Regions from separate parts of the Homo sapiens genome. Here region 2 is linked to region 1. The links are contacts of gene promoters, found by promoter capture Hi-C in blood cells and fetal thymus (Javierre and others, 2016). All regions are on one chromosome and are shown on one strand. The core of a region is centred on a gene start or on the middle of the fragment in contact, and the rest is flanking DNA. Distances in the headings are between cores, read along the strand shown.

What was found. Contacts are between HindIII fragments. The CHiCAGO score rates a contact against its expected background, and 5 or more counts as called.
Region 2: a contact is called between a fragment that was not itself captured here and the fragment with the promoter of EPS15 in region 1, in 4 of 17 cell types (endothelial precursors, neutrophils, M1 macrophages and 1 more). The highest score is 6.6, in endothelial precursors.

Annotation. Positions count from the first base shown.
Region 1 is chr1:51,516,869-51,522,248 of GRCh38, reverse strand. It overlaps EPS15 (epidermal growth factor receptor pathway substrate 15), which reads left to right and starts at 2,983. Exons shown (of 25, transcript NM_001981.3): 1 at 2,983-3,050. The coding sequence starts at 3,018. EPS15-AS1 (EPS15 antisense RNA 1) reads right to left here and starts at 3,977. Exons shown (of 5, transcript NR_183651.1): 1 at 3,803-3,977. It also overlaps a transcript of OSBPL9 not described here. RefSeq lists silencers at 2,760-2,949, 3,100-3,569 and an enhancer at 2,800-3,728. The HindIII fragment of the contact is 8,390 bases long and covers 1-5,380 here.
Region 2 is chr1:51,780,702-51,786,081 of GRCh38, reverse strand. It overlaps OSBPL9 (oxysterol binding protein like 9), which reads right to left. Exons shown (of 24, transcript NM_024586.6): 16 at 4,747-4,918; 17 at 3,439-3,523; 18 at 2,057-2,167; 19 at 1,755-1,818; 20 at 1,500-1,640; 21 at 196-274. Among named protein-coding and RNA genes, the nearest start is that of MIR761, 53 kb to the left of the region's middle. RefSeq lists a silencer at 571-865. The HindIII fragment of the contact is 1,961 bases long and covers 2,404-4,364 here.

The DNA of each region.
Region 1 (5,380 bases), core at 1,734-4,233:
GCCTGCTGTCAATGGCTCTTACTTATAGAAGCTATTTATAAAATAAATTTATAAAATATTTGTTCCTTGATTTTCTTATGGGGATAAAGTGAAGATCCAAATAACAATTATATATGAGATTGTATTCAGTTCAATTCAACAAACTTTTATAATGTACTTACTGAACATTAGAAGTTGTGCTTCTAAACATTTGGCCGGGCACGGTGGCTCACGCCTGTAATCCCAGCACTTTGGGAAGCCGAGGCAGGCAGATCACTTGAGGTCAGGAGTTCGAGACCAGCCTGGCCAACACGGTGAAACCCTGTCTCTACTAGAAAAAAAAAAATTAGCTGGTGTGGTGGCGGGTGCCTGTAATCCTAGCTACTCAGGAGGCTGAGGCACAAGAATCGCTTGAACCCAGGAGGTGGAGGTTGCAGTGAGCCGAGATTGCACCGTTGCACTCCAGCCTGGGTGACAGAGTGAGACCTTGTCTCAAAAAAATAAAAATAAAATAAAAACATTTATAAACGGTGAAAAGCAATACTGTATACATACAAGGTGTTATTTATTTATTAGAGATGGGGTCTCTCTATGTTGCTCAGGCTGAATTCGTGCTCTGTGCAACTGCCTCAGTCTCCTGTGTAGCTGGGACTATAGGCATGTGCCACCATGCCTGGGTAAGGTGTGCTTTTGACTTAATATAAATCATATAAAAGTTAAAACAGTAATAATTCCTTACTTTTCCTGTATGAGAAACTGAAGCTCAAAGAGGTTAAATGGTTTGCCTGCGGTCACACTCTGATTCTTAATATTCTCTTTGCTACTCTGCACTGCCTTTCCGGAAACTACATGGCAGGGTTTCCACCTTATTCATCTGAGAGGAATATCTTACATCTCATATGGTTTGGAGGAGTCCCCTTGAATAGCAAGTGAAATTATACTCCCCAAAGCGATTTGCTCCATGATTTTCAGATTTCATAATTTGTGTAGCTACAAGTTTAGGCACTTTTGTATATGTCATCTCATTCATCCTCACAACAACCCTAAGGGCATACAACTAGTGAATGGGAGAGCCAGGAATGGAACCTGGATATTCCTAATGTCTGAGTCCTATTTATTTCACTATACTATGCTGCTTTGTCTATCAGTTGTATAACCCTGGGCAAATCACTTAGCCTCTGTGACCCTGCATTACCTCATTTGTAAAGTGAGTATGACGATTACTTCCTTTTAGAGTTGTGAAGCTCAAATGTGCTAATATAAAGTAGAAAACACCGGTAGAAACACCGGTTGTGGTTATGGCTGATAAGTGTACCAAAGTGAAGTAATGTAAAACAGTATCTCTTATTCTCTCTTCAGTTAAAGAGATTAGCAGCAAAAAAGAAGCCAAGGAAGATGCTCTTGAATAAGTGGTTACTCACCAGACCTATATGGCTTGCTCTTGTTAGCTGGCCTTTGCCAGAAGGAGTCTGAGTAGAATTAGGAGTTCCTTGGGAAATTTCTGGAATGGTTTGCTTGTGGAGGCAATAGTCTAAAAACTTAGGTGGGGCTAACTCCATCCTGGGTCTTGTTCAGTTGTCCCTCCTACCACGGGGACTGCTATGATAATGGTAATGGGTGTAGGCCTGATAGAGTTGTGGTTTGTTGTAATGGGAAGCCATCGTGACTAAGAAATTAAGACCAATTCGGGCAAATACATTTATTGAGGCCTCTGTGGTAGGCTAAACTATGAGGGAGATAAAGCAGTGAGTCAGCCCCTTGTCCTCAAGGATTTTACAGTGCAGTGAGGTGGAGACAAACCCTCAACTAACGCTTACAGATAAGGCAGAGTATAAAAACGGTCACATCAGAACAACTTAGAGGTGGGGTGTGGAGTTCCTAGAAGGCTTCTTGAAGTAGGTGGTATATACTCTGAGACTTTGAAGATGAATTTCAAGTAACTGGGTATTCCAACTGAAGGTTGGCAGCATCAGAAGGTGTAGGATGTGTTATGTTTAATATAGGCAGGAACGAAGGCCTTTACTGAGCATGCACTGTAATGCTAGGGTCTGACGATATAGAAATATATTGAAAACAGTTCTTGCCATTGAGGAGCTCTTAATCTAGAGGGATAGATAGGTGTAAACTGTCATTAGGGTGATGACTTCACAAGGTAGAGAAGAAAGGTTATAAAGGAGAGTGTGTAACTCTGACATAAGGAAGAGAAAAAGATACTTTGCAAAGGAGGTGAAACTTGAATTATGTCCTGAGAAAGAAGGAGGAGTTTGCTAAGTGGATGATGGGAGAAGCTAGGAGTGCTACAGGCACCAGCGTTCCCTTGTTAAACAATCTAAATGTGACAGGCACCAGGCAAATACATTTTTGCTTCCCCTTTCCAAATGGATTTTGGCTGTGGGAGGGAATGACTTAATGTCTTCTTTTCCAATATACTAGCAGATGGTTAAATATTTACAGTTAGACTTGGATTCTAATTCAGCTATATAATTAGCTGTATGACCTTAGTAAGACACTTATTTGTGTTTCAGTTCCTTCATTCATACAATTCAAAAAATAAGAGTCTAGTACAGAGCCTGGCATATATAAAGTGCCATTATTATTTTCTATCATTATCTCATTTAGTCTTTGTAAGTAACTGGGCCTCTAGTTACAATTTCCCCCATTTTTCAGAAGCAGGAGCTCAGCGTAGGTAGGTGGCCTGTCTGAAGTTCACAGGTCAATCTGCAGTCGCCTCCGCAGCCCGTCCGCTTTAATTTTATGTCCGCGCCGGGTTTTCCAAGGCGGCCCCGGGGGCAGGCTCTGGTCCGGTGGCCGAGACTCCGGCGCCAGGGTTTGGGCGGCGCCGCGGCCGGCTCCGGCGGGCGGGCAGGCGGGCGGGGCCAGGCGGGGCGGGGCGGGCGTGGGGAGGGAAGTTGTGGAAGTTAGGGGAGACGCCCGCCCGCCCGCCCCGGCCTCGCCTGCGGCCGCTCCCTCCGCCTCCTCCCCGCCCCGAGCCCCAGTCAGCCCGTCTTCCTTCCCCTCCCTTGCATGATGGAAACACCATGGCTGCGGCGGCCCAGCTCTCTCTGACACAGGTAACGCCACACGCCCGTCCGCCGGGCTTGGCCGGCCGGTGCCCCCTCCCCCACCGCCCTCAGCTTCGCCGACTTCTTGGCTTGTGGGCCAAGCAGGCAGCTTCTTGGCTTGTGGGCCGGGCGGCCGGTGTGTGTGAGGGAAAGCGGGTGCGACTGCGGGAGGGCGCCCTCCGGAGCCGGAGCCCCCCTGCGGCCGCCGCGACCTCGCCCAGGGTCGTCGGGCGCCTCCTGCCCCGCCCCGCGCGGCCCTCGCCGCCCTCCGCGCCGCTGCCGAGTGGACTGTGACCCGGCCGCGCTCTGCCGGTGCCGGGCCGGCTCCCGCGGGGCAGCTTTCACCTACCCAGGAAGTTTCCTCCCACAGGGCCGCACGCATCCCAGGTGAGCTCCTGTTGAGCTCGCGCGGGCCGGCCGCACCCCCGGGCCGCACGAGGCTCGCCCGCCAGGCCGGCTGCGCGCCGCCCCCAGTAGGAGTTGCCTTCCAGAGCCGGACGCGCAGGCCCCCCAAGCCAGTCTTTCCTCTCCAGACCTGCCTTTCTCCCAGGGTCCGACGGAAGCCCTCCCTTCCCAGAGTTTAATGTAGTTAGCCTCGCCTCCAAAGAAGTCTCATCCTACTCAACTACCCACTCTGCCGGCCCCTTCCTCCGTTCAGCCTCTCCCCCCTCCTGATCAGGTTTCCTTCTGGGTCAGACCCCCAATGCAGCCTTTTGCCACCCACGTCTGCTTCCACTTCAACTTCCCCTCGGGGGGCTCACGCCTGATCGCTGTCCAGGTGGATCCCTTTAACGGGTGTGGTGGCTCCGCCAGTCTTGGTGCCAGGAACGGCCTCCCGGGGAGCACTTTTCTTGGGGGGAATCCTCAGCAAAACCTGTTCTCGAGCTTCCCTCTTGCCTCGTTGCTTCCTGTCAAAGTCCAGTCCTTGTGCTTCTCAGAAAACCTCTAAACATCACTCACACTGGGAACCTGGTCCCTCCCTCTCTGTAAAGAAGCCAATTACAATGTAAACATGGTGTCCGGGATGATAAGGTGACAGACACCTGCCAGTTCCTTCCTGCTCCTGTGACCCAAACTCTCCCCCGCGTCTCCTCAGACGGTTCTCTCCAGAGCTGGTGGCGCGTGCTTCCCGATTGGGGCCCATCCCGTCTTCCTTGCCTGCATTGTGGTATCTCACTGCCATCTTGTACTCCTTGGCCTAGATTCGTCGGTGCTTCTAAGGCTTTAGCGCTGGGATAGGGCAAACATTTCGGCAGTGGAGTTTTCTGTGTTTAAAATCAAGAGGCTTTGGGGTGCTTTGCCTAGCACTGTAGGATAGAGAGAAAAAAATGTTTTCTCAGAAACCAGGAGTCACGTACATGCTTCATGTAAAATAACTAACCCGTGTTTGCAGGAATTCTAAGTGTCATAAGGAAAGTCTATTTCCCAGTTTTTTTGATGGTGGTGGTGGTTGTCCTGTTCTGACAAGCAGAGAACCCTTTAACATGGAATGTGGTGGTTTAGTCTTGGTTATGTATGTTTGGAAGGGTCCTCCCAAAACTCAAATTTGAACAACTACAGCACTGACTTTTAGGTATTCACTTTCTGTGAGTCTAGTTAGTGACTTGCATTAAACAAGATCCCTGTTGGCAGGCTGTTGTTTTCTGGCTCTGTTGGCCAATTCTGGCAGGAGTTTTCCCTTGAAGATTTTGTGCTCTTAAAGACTTCCGTAAAATTGCTTCTCAGTTGTGTGCATACTTTATTCTCTCCCTGGGTAATACCATGTTTTTAGCTTCTATTTACATCATTCATCTCTGGAGAATTGCTTCAAGCTCTGTCAGTTTTATAGCCATTTAAAAAATTTACATATGTTCTTGGGTTATATATTTAGGTATTAATGTGTACACAGTAAGTACGGAATCAGTAGTAGCTATTATCCTTCAGTGCCTCACATATGAGATAATATACATTGGTGGTTAATTTTTATTGATAATTCAAATAAGTAAATTCAGAATATTCTGATTTTAAAACATGAAGAGGCAATAAGAGGGATTACGAAGGCACACGAAAAAATAACATTTCCAGTTGCTAGTATACCCTAATGTGCCTCCTTGTTACTTCAAAACTTTGCAGATTTGTGGTTTTTAAATTTAATTTAATTTTTTTATAACTGCCTGAGCCCAATACACTAAGATAACAATGCAGCCTGGTTTCACATTCATTACTGACCCGTTTGTCATCCTCTGTTCCCCCCACCCTGCCCACTCTCCCAGCACACACATTTAGACATAGGCATACTCAAGTGAGAGCTCATTCAGGGCAGGGACATCTTTTAATCCATCTTTCTCCCATGGTACCTA
Region 2 (5,380 bases), core at 2,135-4,634, 260 kb before region 1:
GGGAGAAGGTGGGGGAAGGAAAGAAAAAGCTTGCCCTGAAGAGATGACATACACTGGAGCTGTCCTAAAGTTCCAGCTCTAATATACTGTAGAAGGAAATGCATTATGAAGGAAGTACTAATGAAGGAAGCCAGAAAAAGGGATAGAGTACAATCTAATGTAGCCTAAAACAAGTGGCAAAATAGAGGATCTTACCCCTGTTGCATATTTTGCATACATCACACCATTCCATTCCCCTTCAATTGAGCAAAAAGACTTCTTGTCATTTGGAGAACTGAACAGAAAAGGAAATACTTGTGTTAGTCTCAAGTTGAAAATTCTACCAAAGAATCTGCTCAGTGTGGCCCAACTACAGAGTAGAGCACAGAAGAGCAACTGTGAAGTTTTTGATGAAAGCATCTTAACAGAACTGGACTCCCCAGGGCTAACTATAAGAATGAGGGCCTTCAACAGGACGCTTATGAACTTGAGATCCCAAGAATGGTGGGTTTGGGCAAGAACGTCCTATTCTGGGTGCAAGGACCATAACAGAGTTGGCAAATTCCCTATCCTCAAGCTGTTCACAGCGTAGTGGAGAGAGACGTAACCACCATTGAAATTCTAGGTGGTAAGTGCTGTGGTGAGCTTACATGGGCACTGGGGGTCAGGGAAGGCTTTGCTTAAGAATATAATGCAGGCTTTCATCCTCAGGTTGAAAGGGACCTCTGTGCCAGATGGTGTGAATACTTTCCCTGAGCAAGGATCCATTCTGCAAAAGCCGTAACAGACCTCTACTTGGACACACAACTATGGAATGTGAGAAGATAAGCAACACAGCAAAGGCCTGGTTAGGAAGGGCAAGGCATAAACAGGATTGAAAGAGGCCAGAAAAGGGAGACATGACCAGGGCAGAGGGAGGAGAGCTGCTATCAACGCCTGAAACTTTCTTTCCCACTGTCCCCTTCCCCCCCAGTTAAGGGTTCCAGAGGCAGAGAGAGTCATGGTGCCATCACTATAGACTTTCCACTGACTGGCACAGTCATCTGCACGTGACCCAAGAGTGTCAAGTGGAAGCAAGCCAGATGCGTGCAAAATGTGATGGTTACTGTTTTTCCCCAGCAAAGGCACAGAAAAAGGGATAGCTGTGAGGACCAGGAGGCAGTGCTGCAGGGGTCACAAAGTCTGCTGTAAGGACCAGCTCATCATTCAATCTGGCAAGAATAAATTAGGGATCCATAATCTGGTTTAGCTAGGCAACCTAGGAAGGCCTCTTTTAGTTCAACATTGCAAGTCAGGTTTTTAGGAAGGAAACCTATCAATGACCTCTGACTGCTCTGAATATATGTTTTAGGTCTTCTTCTGATATGGGACTTCAGCAAAAGACATGACACATAAAATGTGAAACACGCTTACAAAGACAGAACCATTCTTTCACACTCCTAATCCAGAAGCTGTAGTTCAAGACAAAAGGCAGTTATTTCAGAAAAGCATAAGAGCTCTAAGGCAGAAAAAATACCTACAAAATCTCGGCAGTAATTCTGTGCTTCTTGCCCCCATAGAAGGGTTTAGTGTGGAAGATGATATTTGCACTATAGCCTGTTTTGGAACAATTAATATTGCATTCTCCTCCTAATTCCACCCAGGGCACTGTGAGGATAGACCTGCAAAATCAAAAGTTTTTAGGTAAGGTTGACAGTTAAGAGGAAGAGGGGGAAGGGGCATGTCTCAAGGAACAGCAGAGTCTACTGCTGATCAGAGGAAATGGACACACTTGCCTTCCATAGCCATTGGGGAATGTGAGAATGTAATGTTCATCATAGTCTAGACATGAGACACAGCCTGTGGAGAGAAGGGACAGAATCTCTGATGAGTAGTGCCAAGTGGCCACAAGGCTTTCTTGTCGAGCTGATGGTTACTCCAGGATACTCCATTCAATTTAGGGATAACCTATCTAGTTCCCCACCCTTTGCTCTCACCCCCAATACCAATGCTTAGTTGCTAACAATGACATCTAGTCTAGCCATTTTCATAAAATTCTCCTATAACATTGTAGTCCACCCAATGCCAACACACTTACCCTGCCCTATGTTGTGCACCCCAATTGACATCCCAAGGAATTTTGATTTGGTCCAGATATGAGCATTGAATTGTATCTTCTTGTTAAAACACTCAGCATAAAAGGCTGAAACTGAATAGAAATTTTCAATTAGTAGATTATATATACCTACAGCCACCTCTCCAAAATCACATAACCTGGGGAAATAATTGGCTTCATGGGGAAATCCTTTACCCTTCAAACAGCCTCCAATTACGCCAGGAGGTACCTACCTGCCTTTTATACCCTTTTCCCCAATGCAAGCATTCATTCAGAGCCACGTGGGCAGGATCATCCCTGAAATGATGCTGTGGCCAACCCAGGAAGCTTAAAACCAAAAGGGCTATCTGTTCTGGTCTGCAAGTACACCCAGGCTCCAGCCCCAACCTAGGCCCAGCCAGTGTTTCCAGTTTTAATACTGCACTAAACAAACCAGATGTTGAGGGTATGTACAGTTGACCCTCCATATCCATGGGTTTTGTACCCACAGATTCAGCCAACTGTGGATCTAAAATATACAGAGGCTGGGCTCAGTGGCTAACGCCTGCAATCCCAGTACTTTGGGAGGCCAAGACGGGAGGATCACTTGGGGCCAGGAATTTGAGACCAGCCTGGGCAACATAGTGATACACTGACTCTAAAAAAAAAAAAAAAAAAATAAGAAAATTAGTTGGGTGTGGTGGCACATGTCCATAGTCCCAGCTAACTGGGAGGCTGAGGTGGGAGGATCATGTGAGCCCAGGAGGCTGCAGTGAGCTATGATTGTGCCACTGCATTCCACCCTGGGGGACAGAGCAAGACCCTGTCTCAAAAGAAAAAATTTAAAAATACAAAATAAAAATAATACAAATAAATAGTGAAACAACTATTTACATAGCATTTACATTGTATTAGGTATTATAAGTAATCTAGAGATGACTCAAGTATACAGGAGGGTGTGCATAGGTTATATGAATATAAAAGACACCATTTTATGTAAGAGACTTCAGCATCCTCGGTTTTGGTATCTGCAGTATGCCAGGAATATACTGTGTAGAAACTACGTATCACTTATATAAACTGTCTCACAGTTGCTGAGGTCTCTACAGCACAAATTACTATATATAAGATGACTCTGGAAGCATTAAAAGTTGGTTTCCTAAATCCCTTCTTTTTATACGCACTTAATTTGTGAAGCTAAGAGTCTGGAGCTTACAAAAGGAAAAGATATGAGGAACAAATCAACTTGAGTTTCCACTTCAGGGAATAAGAAACACACAGCTAGTCACACAACTGACAGTACCCTCAGCTATGGCGCTTTTAATGACCCTCTTTAGACAGAATAGTTTTGAGAGCACAGGTTGCAGAGGAGCTCTGTAACTTACTGGGTGGATGATGGGAAACCTGCTCAGCCACAAATGTTACACTGTTTTTGGAAACCCAGGGAACTGGTCCTTCTGAAACTAGTTCCTGCAAGCAAATATAACATAATTTTCTTTTGATGAGAAAACACAAATGACATTTCAGAGAATCTGGTAATTGGGGTCTCTGCTCGCTCTACACACACCAAGCACCCTATATATATATTTCTATTGTAGAACTTAACTACAATATTTTAATTGCTTTGTGTCAGTCTCCCTGACTAGACTAAGACATTCTTAAAGGCAAGGATTGTGTGCCTCATTCAGGGCTGACAAGAGTAGGCACTTATCAATGTCTGCCAAATGAATAAGAACAGACACATACTTGTCTGTCTTCAGTATGGACTATACGTAGTGCATCACTTGGAGAGGGAAATATATGGAGAATCATGTTTACTGACAGATTATTATGTGTCAGGTGCTGTGGGCTATGGTTTTGTTTTTTTTACTTCTTAAAGCCTTTTTACATGCATTTGAGTCTTCCCTGCTGGTCATTTTCTTCAACCACTAAATTTGTTGGAGCCTCAGAGCCAGTTCTGGGTTACCTACTCTTCTGTAGCTATGCTGTCTTCCTAAATAATTTTATCCAATCCTAGAGCTTTAAAATGTCATCTAAATACACTATACTCTTTGAAAGCCCCATCCCCATCTCAGACCTCTCCCTAAACTCCACACTCTTAAATTCCATCTCCCTACTTGACAGCTTCACAGACCTCTAAAACTTTATATTTTATATTAGCTTTTGATTTTTCCCTCCCCAAATCCAATCTTTTCCTTATCAGTAAATGACACTGCCACTGCTTACATCCACATGCAAGGATTCATCTCTGATGTCTCCTTTCCCTTACCTCCCCCAATCCATCAATCAGTTCTACCTCCAAAATAAAGCTTGAATCACCATGTCTCTCTTGGAATAATGTCAAAACCTCCACAATGGTCTTCATGCTTCTATATTTGCCCCTTCTCAATTTATTTTTCACAAAATCATTCTATTGATCTTCTCAAAACAAAAATGAGATCCTGAAAAGCCATAAAATTATATTATGGTCTACAAGACCTTGCAAGATCTGATTTCTACATCCCCATCCTCATCTCATCCTACTCTTTTTCCTCCTTCTCACTACATTCAAACTATGCTGCTCTAACAACAATTTCTTCTATGGGTGGTGACCATCTTTTGATCATTGCTTTCATCATTATTATTTGCCCCTAAATAAAATCTTGAATCAGTATACAATTAAGATAATTTAAAAATGTCAATGCAGAACTCACTGTGTTCTCTTCAGTATCATTTGGTAATGTCCAATGACACTGAAAAATCTCGCCCAAAATGGGATTGTATGGCTTTTTGGCAACTGATCCTTTCCTTCCCGCATGAAAGGCTGAGAGGTACCATTTCACAACCTGAACCATTCGATCCTTGGGATCCTTCTGGTCACTAATGCTGCAAGGGAGAAAGACAAAATTTAATGTCCTGCTTTCTGGTACAAGACAAGATGATGCAACAACCCCCAGCATGGTCCACCTAAGTCAGGCTGAGAGGACTGAGGACCTAGGACCAGGAGTTAGCTTACAGTTTCATTTTAAAATTGAGTATAATATATATAATTAAATGCATTGGTCTTAGTGGTTTTTTCTTTTTTTTTTAATTTCAACAGGTTTTTGGGGAACAGGTGGTGTGTTTGGTTACATGGATAACTTCTTCAGTGGTGATTTCTGAGATTTTGGTGCACCCATCACCCAAGCAGTGTACACTATATCCAATGTGTAGTCTTTTATCCTTCACACCCCTCCCACCCTTCCCCTTGAAGCCCCAAAGTCCACTGTATCATTCTTTCTTTTTGAGACGGAGTCTCGCTCTGTCACCCAGGCTGGAGTGCAGTGGCGTGATCTCGGCTCACTGTAA